Linked DNA regions of Homo sapiens: regions 2, 3 and 4 are each linked to region 1. Evidence: promoter capture Hi-C in human tissues and cell types (Jung and others, 2019). All regions are on one chromosome and are shown on one strand. The core of a region is centred on a gene start or on the middle of the fragment in contact, and the rest is flanking DNA. Distances in the headings are between cores, read along the strand shown. Region 1 holds the start of SLC6A12 (solute carrier family 6 member 12). Region 2 overlaps KDM5A (lysine demethylase 5A). Region 3 overlaps IQSEC3 (IQ motif and Sec7 domain ArfGEF 3). Region 4 overlaps KDM5A (lysine demethylase 5A).

Region 1 (2,700 bases), core at 181-2,680:
GCACCGGGGTAGCTCAAGTATGGATTCTGGCTGGGCCATGTCCTACTGTGCCACAGCTGACCCCCAGCCCGGCTTCTGCTTTCATAGAGGCAATGGGTCTGAGAGCTGAGACCTGCTCTGCCTTCCTCTTCATGTGGAACCCCACAGGAGAGGCTGAGAGGGGCCCGAGAGACATATCGTGGGGGTGCTTGATGGAAAACTACAGACTGAGAGTCTCACTTCACACCCCACCCCTGCTGGGAAGTTCTAAAATACACAGAGGAAGCACATGTAAAAGGAAATTTCCCTTTCTCCCTGCAACTTCCTCTCCCTTCATACCACCTAGAGCTGAAGAAGCACCTCCTTTGTCTTGAAGGAGGCACCAGCTATTCTGAATGAAGGGCGGTGGGACAGTGCTGTACCCCACACCAGGTGGGCGTGCTCAGGGACAGTGACCAGGACGCTGTTCTGGAGGAGCTCACTGGGCACACGGCATAGGGCACATGTATTCAAAAAATACCCTTCCCCATTGATAGCTGGCAGGCCACTCCAGACAAATTCTAGCTAGGTGCCTGGTGCTATGCAGTGACCAGAGGTGCCTGGGACCAGACACCCCACCATCCCAGCCTCTGCTTCCAGAGGACACACAACAAACACCCACACCTCCCCTTAAGCACCTATGATATCCCTGCACCCTCACAGCAACCCCGCAAAGTAGATATTGTGTTGTTACCTACCTTTGACAGACTGGGAAACCAAGGCTGACCCTTGCCTAGCTGTCGTGACTGATACATGATAGAGGAGGAGAAGAAACTCAGGTCTGTCTGGTCCCAATCCTGGGTCCTCTCTACATTGCTTCTTGAGGTACGCTCTGGGTGCTTTCTCTAGGAAAATCCCAAGGAGAAGGGTTGTGAAGGTCCAGGGCCTTGCCTAGAAGCCACAGAGGGCAGGTACTTGGTGGAAAACTCCAGCGTGTGATTCACCCTCCTCCCTTGCCCTCGTCAGTGAGGTCACCTCCCCTCCCAAGGTTCTCAGTTTATAGCCTGGAGTCTCTGGTAAGAGAGGGCTGTCCCCTGTGCTGCACATACCCGTCTCCTCATCCCTGGGAAGGAGATGGTTCTGGAGGGGGATAGGGGAAAAGGGGGAAGGGGGAAGGGCAAGGAGGAGGAGGAGGGGAGATGAGGTCAGGGTGTGAGTCTCTGAGCCCCTTCCCCTGCCCAAGGGAGCAGCAGCTCAGCCCAGCTCTGGAGGGGCCATCATGGGACTGTGCCCACGGGGAGGGCACCGGTCTGGAGACAGTGGGTTCACAGTGGGAGTGGGATGGGGGTGGGAGCGCTGGGGACAGAGGACTTGACTTCCTGAGGTTGGATGTTGTAATCTCGGTTCACAAACTTTTGGCCTCAGTCCCTCCTGCTGCTCCTGGTATTTCTCTGTCCTTTCACTCCCCAACACACACAGCCCCCGCCCCAACACATACACACACGGCTTCTTTCTGTCTGGGAGTCCCTGGACAAGTCACATGGGATTCTGCGCTGGGAGGAACAGGGTAAGGCGTGAACGTGGAGGGCAGTTTCCCTTTCAGGTCCCGGCTCTCTTGGCTTTCCCATAAGCAGCTGCCTTGGGACTCTCCTGGAGACCTGATGCCCACAGCCAAGCTGACCACAGGAGCCGGTGCTGGGGACTGAGGTGAGCGGGAAGTGGAGGGGCTGGCTCTGTCTTTGCAGTCTCCAACTGCTGCTCAGAGGGGCTGGAGGGATAGAGCCCTGGGAAGCGAGACTCTGTGGAACTGCGTGTCTGCAGCGGGGGGCAGGACCTGCAATAACCTCAGGCCAAAGGGCAAGTCTGATGCCCACGACTCTCAGGACAAGGGGTGCCCCCTAGCTCCGCCCCATCCAGCGTGGGAGCAGCTCAGTGATTAGCCTGTGGAGCAGGAAAGTCCAGCGATGGGCAGCTGGTCACGGCAGTGGGTGAAAGCAGGGGTGGTCATCTGACGAGGGGAGGGGAAGCAGGTGGTGCCCAGCAAGGTGGAAGGAGAAGTGGACAGGAGAAACCTCGGGGCATTCCCGAGGGCCCAGGAACTGCAATAAATGATCACAGGTGAGGGGTTCCTGCCCGCTGCCTGCCGGCTGAGCGTGACGAGCTGGGTGCCAGGCGCCTCCCAGGAGGAAGCTGTCTTGGCTTTGGGCGGTGGATGCTATGGGTGTGCTTGTACCCGAGGGGGGCACTCAGGGGAGTTGCAGGCAGCCACCAGCTGAGACCGGCACTCACGGGGTGTGAAGGACTACAGAGAGAGCCAGGTTTTGGTGCCATGCACACAGGTATGTGTGTGCGAAGGGACGTGACGGGAAATGGCACCAGTGTGTGTATGGGAATGGGTGTTGGTATGTGGGTGTGGACTGAAGCAGGGGCTGGGTGTCCCATCCCCCCGTGTGCAGGGTCTGAGCTATTCCTATGCTGGACTGGGGAGCAAAGGGGACAGAGCTGGGATCCCAGCAGCACATGGGCAGCAGCATTTCTGGTCTCGTCTGCACCTCTGCTAGCCCCAGCTGGGCCTCTGGCGACATGCCCAGCTCCTGAAAACAGACTTAACTTTGGACTTTCTAGTCTCTTGAAGATTTGCTCTCTGGGCAGCACCAAGCCCGGTGTGGAAATTGGTGTGTTTGCTTCTGGAGGGCACTGAAGTATGATGAGGCCCATCCCCCACCCCTCACCCCCCTGTCC
Region 2 (2,700 bases), core at 38-2,537, 68 kb before region 1:
GGAGGATTTGGTATGACTTGACCACAGGTTTAGACCAAGGCTGAGAAGAACAGAAGGGAGAAATTAATGGCAAAACAAAAAATACACAAATCTGCGGTTTTGGAATTAATGAAACAAGATTCATCTATTTAAAGAAATGTTGGTGTTCTAATACAAAGCATTATTTTCACTTAGAGAAAATTACTTACTTGCTCCCTTCTGTATTGTAATATTTTGTATTAAGACATGATTTAAAATGTCTTTCTACCCTTATCTCCTCTAAACTGCAACTGAAGTTGCAATTCTTCATCATTAGTATTTTAACTCTGGCAAAGGTTATAGAAAGAAAAATGGAAATATGGTAGGCCTGTGGTATTCTTAAAAGCTAAGTCATTAGAACTATGCAGATCCCCAAGTTTAAAAGTACAAATACAGCACCAGTAGTTAGCTTTCTAGCTGGGGGAGAAGACAGGAGATTTTTCTTCCACAGATGTTTATTTTGCTTCCTGATAGGTACTGCAGCAAAGCCATGTTGATGTGTAGATGCATGACTTCCTCACTAAGCTGCTGCACACCAGCTTTGCCTGCATGATTCAAATTTGTGCCTCAGTAAAATTATAAATTATTGCATGTCATACCTTGAATAATGGAAACGGCAAACATTAAACCTGTGATTACCCATAATGTACTTTAATAATAAAAAACATGGCAGCCAGGTGCAGTAGAGTGCACCTGTGGTCAGGAGGCTGAAGTGGGAAGATTGCTTCAACCTGTGAGTTTGAGTCCCGCCTGGTCAACAGCGAGACCCCATGTGTCTGTCTGTCTCTCTCTTTTTTTAAAGGACAGAGGCTAAGCTGTAAGGTTAGCATGGTTCTGCCTGGGCTTTGCTTCTGTGCTTCTGTGCAGGCTGAGCTGTAAGGTTAGCATGGTTCTGCCTGGGCTTTGCTTCTGCGCTTCTGTGCAGGCTGAGCTGTAAGGTTAGCATGGTTCTGCCTGGGCTTTGCTTCTGCGCTTCTGTGCAGGCTGAGCTGTAAGGTTAGCATGGTTCTGCCTGGGCTTTGCTTCTGCGCTTCTGTGCTAGCAGGTGCCCACAAAATGTCTTTTTGAATTTCTTAATTTTTGGGTTCTGGATGCAATTCGTGCACGCCAAGAAACTACTTGCTTGTCAGTATTTTAATTCTGTAGTACATGTGTGTGAATATCAGCCAGTACTTACAGTAGGAGGATGAACAGAAAAACTGAGAAGACCTGTCTTTCAAAAGATGGGTTTATCCACTTTTTAAGGGAAAAAGTGACAGTTTGGCATGGGATTTGAAAAGTGGAAATTGTGGAAAAATTGAGCTGTTGAAGTCCCACATATAACCAGATTTAATAAAGCTTCACATGTGAATTAGCTCCATATGTGTGTAGAAGGTTGCTTTTATAGCAGGTCCTTAAGTACTCCTTTTGAAATTCCTCCTTTTTTTTTAAGTCATACCATTACTTCTTTGGATATGAATGTCCCAAGTGGTATCTCCTACTGTAGTATGAGGAAGAATGGCTGTTAATGTATTTTTTGAATTTTGGTCTTGTCTTGGCCTGGATCATATCCAGTCACCACTATGCAACAAATGATGTGCACTGGGCAAGGATATGATGGGTTATGAAAGCTGTATCTTGTTTGTTTTTTCTTTTGCAGTACTCCAAGTGGTCTAAACAGGAATGTCTTGTAAAACCTCAAGACTCCCTATTGATTATTCCCTTACATATTTATTTACAATTTATCAGGGTAATTGGTGGTGCCTTATGAAAAGTATAACTCGATTTCTTGATCTTTGAGCATGTTTTGTGTTTCTTGTGTTTTCTAAAAGAATATTAGATATGGTTAATTGCATTACATCTAAAAGATTTAAAAAATTGTGTGTATGCTCAGGTTCCCCACACCCATACCCACCCTAACCCCTGTCATTTACATTGGTGGCAACTTTAAATGGTAACCAAGCAAAAGTACATTTTGATAATGAGTATTGATAATCCTGAGGAAAACTAGTGAGTATATGGGAGCCACCTTTGACCTGTGCCAAAGCAGTTTCTAATTTCATTTGCTAACTATAAAATAAAGAACTGAGCCAAAATAATTTGATCAGTGGTGTGATTAGCCTATTATCATTGCTGAGAATAGTGTTTTTGGAGTGTGAAGTGATTCCTGAAGATTTCACCTGCCTTCTGTTTCCAGCAAGAATCCAGTGATGACCAACACATTTCCTCACTTTTGGTTCTTGAGAAGTTTATCCCTTTGCAACAAACCATTAATAGGGAAAACAAGGAAATGCTTTCCCTTTCTCTTTGGCTTCTTAAAGCTCACAACCAATTCAGACCCCAAGTTACTTCAGAGAAGCAAATGGCACCTTTTCCCCATTGCCAAGGATCCCAGCTTATGCAGATATGAAGGACGGATCATTTCTGAAAATGTTAAGACTCTGCTTGCAGTGGACTTGGCCTCAGTTTCATGAAATGTGTAACTCTGTATGTGTATGTTAGGAGGAGGGTTGGTTGAAAGAGCGGGGGCAGGGAGGGGAATCTGATTACCTCTTGGGAAATAATTTTCTTGCCAACAAAAAGATACACTTGAAGTTTCTTAAGGTGGCAAGTCCATTAAAAAAAAAAATTGTGTTGGACCCTCCCAGTTTAGATCAAGTATTTCTTGGGGGTCTTGCTATTGTGGTTGATACCAATAAATGG
Region 3 (2,700 bases), core at 142-2,641, 100 kb after region 1:
GAAGAGAGGGGAATGATTATAAGGGCAGCCATGACCATTTGGGAGAGACCCCATTCTCCCGGGTAAGGAGTCCTGCCAGCTGAGCAGAAATTCCCAAATGCAAATCCCAGAGGGGATAACAATAACCTCAGAGATCAGGCCCCAGTGCAGGACCCAAGGGAACTAATAATTAAAGGGATTAAAAAGTCCACTCTTAGAACACAAAATGTCTTGAAAGCATTCGAGATCCAACAATAAAAAGAGAAGACTCCCTCCGCATTTCTGCAGAGGCTCAGGGATCAAATAAGAAAATATTCAGGATTAGGTCCAGAGCACCCAGTAGGGCAAGGCCTTTTAGGACTTAGTTCTGTGACAAAAGCTGGCCTGATATTACTAAGAAACTGCAAAAGATTGATAGGTGGAATGAAAAACCGATTAAGGAATTACTGAGGGAAGCTCAGAAGGTTTTTGTAAGAAGAAAGAAAAGAGAAACTGGAAAAGGGAGAAAGAGAAAAAGTAAAAAAGAAAATTGGAAAGACAAAGGGGAGGAAATGGCAAACATAGAGGGCCAGAGAGAGAAAGAGTTAAGCTGCTGACCCTGAAGGCAAGGGAGAGGCGGCCACACAACTGTGTGTGGAAGCTGGCTGCTGAAAGCTGTTGATAAAAGTTGTTGCTGAATCTTTGTTGTTTCGACAGAGCTGTCCATCTTTGCAGATTGTCAGGGGCCAGGGCCCAGCACAGTTTAGCTTGTGCCCAGAGAGAGAAAGAGAAAGAAACTAAGTGTGAGGGAAAAAGGAAACAGGATGATAGAGATAGATAGAAAAAGAAAACGAGCGAGAGCAAGAGACTGGAAAAGACAGATCAAAGAGAGACACCAAAGTTAAGACTGGGGAGAAAAATAATGCAAAAGGAAGAAAGAGTACAAGAGGAAGTGAGAGGATGTGGAGAGGTTGGCAGGGCTGGGGGAAGGTTCTAGAGGCTCAAGCAACAAGGAGGTGCTGGGAAAGGGTGCAGTGCGGCCACTGAGGAGGGACAGGGTCCGGGAACTGGGGGATGCAAGTGAGAAGGGGATGTGGAGGAGAGTTTAGGATCAGGCTGCCTGAGGAATAGTGGGTTGCGTACGGCAAAGACTAGATGGCTGTTTGTCAGGAGGGTGTAGAAAGGGTTCAGGATGTGGAAGGGTGAGTGGATGAGATGAGCATTAAGGTTTGCTGCTGTTTCACTGAGAGGCTGTGAGTCCACCAGGGGCAGCCGTCAGTAAGGCTGCAGAGAGGCCGGGGGGCTACATAAGGAAGATCCGAACTAGGGTTATAAACTCAAAGGACAACACGGCCAGCAAATGGTGAGAAGGAGGGCTGCAGGGCTGGATGGGGACTGTGGCTAACTGAAGAGGGCACACCTCTGCAGCTGCTCGACTGTTCTCACAGTGCCAGCCCTGTGTTGCCAGACTGTCTGCTTTGTCAGAGGCCAGAATTCTGACTTTTTATGTGAAACAGGATTTTTAAATGCTGGTGATCAGTTAAAAAAACTTAATAACCCAATACAGGTGATAGAAAATGCCAGTTTGCAATCCCTGAAGTAGAGAGAGCGCGTGCTGGGGAGAAGTCCGCCAGGATGCTTTGAGGTGGGGTGTATAAAAGTTCTGTTTCCCAGAGCTGGGCTGGGCCAAGGGGCGACCCTTGCAGCTGACGAAAAGCCACCAAGTCCCCTCCCAGAGCGGGACAAACCTGGGACCCTTTGCAGTTGCTGGGTCACCAGCAGGGGTGGCGTGGAATACAAACAGTGCAGCTCTCGGCCTGCCAGGGAGACGGATGGTGCCTTCAAAGCAAAGAAGGAGCCAGGGATGCCTTTGCTGATGAGAGTGCCCATCAGGGAAGGCACCACAGGCTGGCAGCTCTTCAAACCAGCAGCTGTTGGCCCAGAGCCAGACCCGGCAGAGCCCGGCTAAAGACACCCTGAAAGGCCAGCTGGTCAGCCCCTTGCCTCCTCAAGTTCCTCCTGGGGTCAGTGGGCCCTGGAAAGGCGCCTAAATGAACTCCAGTCAGTTTCTTACGGAAATGAGAGGAGAATAAGCAGGTATCAGACCATAACTGTTTACATATGATAGAATATCAAACCAAAGTTAGACCAGACCTTAAAGAAATTCCACTACTCGATGGAATGAGGCTGTTTGTGAATAGGCCATCCTGAGTGATAGATGGTAAAAGACACAATGTCCAGGCTGTCATTGATGGAAACAAACAAACCTTATGAGAAAAAGGTAGATTACCCAATAACTGCTCAGCCCAAACCTGTGAATTACATGCTCTTAACCAAGCCCTGAAGCTCATATAAGGCCAAGAAGGCACTGTATATGCTATTTCCAGATATGCCTATGGAGTAGTACACACCTTTGGAAAGATCTGGACAAAGTGGAGCCTAATAAATAGCAGGTAGAAAGAATTGGTATATGGGAAACTGGTCAAACAAGTTTTAAAAAGCCTCCTGCTTCCAGCAGAGGTAGCCATAGTTCATGTAAACGGCCATCAGAAAGGAAACTCTATAGAAGCTAGGGTTAGGGTTAGGGTTAGGGTTAGGGTTAGGGAACAGGCTTGTGGATAAAGCTGCTAAGCAGCCTCCCTGGAGGTAGAAGTTAAACTATTTGGCCTAATCCCAGATATCCCTAAGGTGGTATTAAAACCCCAACTTTCTGAAGAGGAGGAGGAAGAGCTGGGCAAGATA
Region 4 (2,700 bases), core at 101-2,600, 84 kb before region 1:
AGCTGGTTATTTTGCCTGTTAGTTGATGCAGTTTCTTCATAGCGTCGATGGTCTTTACGATTTGGTATGTTTTTTCCAGTGACTGGTACCGATTGTTCCTTTCCATGTTTAGTGCTTTCTTCAGGAGCTCTTGTAAGGCAGGTCTGGTGGTGAGAAAATCTCTCAGCACTTGCTTGTCTGGAAAGGGTTTTATTTCTCCTTCACTTACGAAGCTTAGTTTGGCTGGATATGAAATTCTGAGTTGAAAATTCTTTTCTTTAAGAATGTTGAATATTGGCCCCCACTCTCTTTTGGCTTGTAGAGTTTCTGCGAGAGATCCGCTGTTAGTCTGATGGGCTTCCCTTTGTGGGTAACTTGACCTTTCTCTCTGGCTGCCCTTAACACTTTTTCCTTCATTTCAACATTGGTGAATCTGACAGTTATGTGTCTTGGGTTTGCTCTTCTCAAGGAGTATCTTTGTGGTGTTCTCTGTATTTCCTGAATTTGAATGTTGGCCTGCCTTGCTAGGTTGGGGAAGTTCTCCTGGATAATATCCTGAAGAGTGTTTTTCAAGTTGGTTCCATTCTTCCATCACACAGGTACACCAATCAAATGTAGATTTGGTCTTTTCACGTAGTCCCATATGCATTGGAGGCTTTTTTCGTTTCTTTTCACTCTTTTTCCTCTAATCTTGTCCTCTCACTTTATTTTATTGAATTGATCTTCAATCTCTGATATCCTTTCTTCTGCTTGATTGATTCGGCTATTGATACTTGTGTATGCTTCACGAAGTTCTCGTGCTGTGTTTTTCAGCTCCATCAGTTCATTTATGTTCTTTTCTAAACTGGTTATTCTAGTTAGCAATTCCTCTAACCTTTCCTGAAGGTTCTTAGCTTCCTTGTATTGGGTTAGAACATGGTCCTTTAGCTCAGAGGAGTTTGTTATTACCCACCTTCTGAAGCCTACTTCTGTCAATTCATCAAACTCATTCACCATCCAGTTTTGTTCCTTTGCTGGCGAGGAGATTTGATCCTCTGGAGGAGAAGAGGCATTCTGGTTTTTGGAATGTTCAGCCTTTTTGTACTGGTTTCTCCCCATCTTCGTGGATTTATCTACCTTTGGTCTTTGATGTTGGTGACCTTTGGGTGGAGTCTCTGAGTGGACGTCCTTTTTGTTGATGTTGACACTACTCCTTTCTGTTTGTTAGTTTTCCTTCAAACAGTCAGGCCCCTCTGCTGCAGGTGTGCTGGAGTTTGGTGGAGGTCCACTCCAGACTCTTGTTTGCCTGGGTATCGCCAGCAGAGGCTGCAGAACAGCAAAGATTGCTGCTTGTTCCTTCCTCTGGAAGCTTCATCCCAGAGGGGCACTGGCCAGATGCCAGCCAGAGTTCTCTTGTATGATGTGTCTGTTGACCCCTGCTGGGAGGTGTCTCCCCGTCAGGATGCACGGGGGCCAGGGACCCACTTGAGGAGGCATTCTGTTGCTTATCAGAGCTCGAATGCTGTGCTGGGAGATCCGCTGCTCTCTTCAGAGCCGTCAGGCAGGGACATTTAAGTCTGCTGAAGCTGCGCCCACAGCCGCCCCTTCCCCCAGGTGCTCTGTCCCAGGGAGCTGGGGGTTTTATCTATAAGTCCCTGACTGGGGCTGCTGCCTTTTTTTCAGAGATGCCCTGCCCAGAGAGGAGGAATCTAGAGAGCAATAGTAATTTTTTTGTAGGTTTATTATCTCCGTGGATTGTTTTTGACCTTAACACTCTCTTTTGTCTTGAATCTGTAGTCATTATATTCCTGGACAGAACGAGGTCTGGCTGCTTTTTCTCTCAGTCCAATAAGGAGATGCAGACTGACTGGGAAAGAAGGGAGTTAATTTCTGCAGCTGGTTATGGAGTAACTCACCAGACCAACTAAAAGTTACAAGTTTTTTTCAACGCTTGTATTCATTCTAAATTCTATGTCTGTGTGTAGGAGGTGCACCTACAAGCCAGAATGTTTCATTCAAACTGTATCTAATCTTCAGGTAGGGTCCAGGGTCTGGAAAGCTTTCTCTAGAGACTTGGAAAAATTTCCTTATCTTAAGTGGGCCCTGGTACAAGGTGTGTGTAAGAATGCCTTCATAACTTTATCAGGCTTTAGGGTCTTAGAAAACCCGGGTGAAAATCTTAATGGGTTTGTTTTCACATTTCAGCCCTTGTACGAAGGCAGTAGTTTCTCCAGTTATTTACTGTTTAACTTACACATTCATCAGAATTATAGTAATGTGTTAGTAGAAACTGTTCTGGTTGCTCATGGAGACCTGGCCTGCCACAATTACAGTTTTTCTCCCCAATGGACATTTTCTATCTTATTTAACATCAGATATTTAATTTTAATCTCATATTTTTAGTATATTAGAAGCTTTAACCTGAAAGCCTCCATTTTGGGCCTTGTCATAAAATAAGTTAAATGACTCTAATTCTGAATACTTCTCTTTGTTTCTTCTTCAGGACACAGCCAGTGTGAAGTCCTCTAGTAGTCTTGAACCCAATCTTTTTTGTGATGAAGAGATTCCCATCAAATCCGAGGAGGTGGTGACCCACATGTGGACAGCACCTTCATTTTGTGCAGAGCATGCTTATTCTTCTGCTTCTAAGAGTTGTTCTCAAGGTATTACTCCTTTAAAAAACTGTGGGGAACATAAGCAGAAAACCAATGAGAAAAAGCATTATGTTAATCAAGACTGTGA

Evidence for each region. Contacts are between HindIII fragments. The study calls those that stand out against the background at their distance.
Region 2: a fragment that was not itself captured here is called in contact with the fragment with the promoter of SLC6A12 in region 1 in 2 of the 25 tissues and cell types used here (H1 embryonic stem cells and dorsolateral prefrontal cortex).
Region 3: a fragment that was not itself captured here is called in contact with the fragment with the promoter of SLC6A12 in region 1 in 3 of the 25 tissues and cell types used here (H1 embryonic stem cells, heart right ventricle and lymphoblastoid cells).
Region 4: a fragment that was not itself captured here is called in contact with the fragment with the promoter of SLC6A12 in region 1 in 7 of the 25 tissues and cell types used here (IMR-90 fibroblasts, aorta, dorsolateral prefrontal cortex and 4 more).

What each region holds. Positions count from the first base shown.
Region 1 is chr12:212,887-215,586 of GRCh38, reverse strand. SLC6A12 (solute carrier family 6 member 12) reads left to right here and starts at 1,430. Exons shown (of 16, transcript NM_001122848.3): 1 at 1,430-1,665. RefSeq lists an enhancer at 1,549-2,320. The HindIII fragment of the contact is 37,462 bases long and covers 1-2,700 here.
Region 2 is chr12:280,284-282,983 of GRCh38, reverse strand. It overlaps KDM5A (lysine demethylase 5A), which reads left to right. Exons shown (of 28, transcript NM_001042603.3): 28 at 1-2,700. Among named protein-coding and RNA genes, the nearest start is that of SLC6A13, 19 kb to the right of the region's middle. The HindIII fragment of the contact is 5,517 bases long and covers 1-2,700 here.
Region 3 is chr12:107,955-110,654 of GRCh38, reverse strand. The region is part of intron 2 of IQSEC3 (IQ motif and Sec7 domain ArfGEF 3); the gene reads right to left. The region is part of intron 1 of IQSEC3-AS2 (IQSEC3 antisense RNA 2); the gene reads left to right. Among named protein-coding and RNA genes, the nearest start is that of IQSEC3-AS2, 2.5 kb to the left of the region's middle. The HindIII fragment of the contact is 5,213 bases long and covers 1-2,700 here.
Region 4 is chr12:296,962-299,661 of GRCh38, reverse strand. KDM5A (lysine demethylase 5A) reads left to right here. Exons shown (of 28, transcript NM_001042603.3): 25 at 2,462-2,621. Among named protein-coding and RNA genes, the nearest start is that of SLC6A13, 35 kb to the right of the region's middle. The HindIII fragment of the contact is 4,145 bases long and covers 1-2,700 here.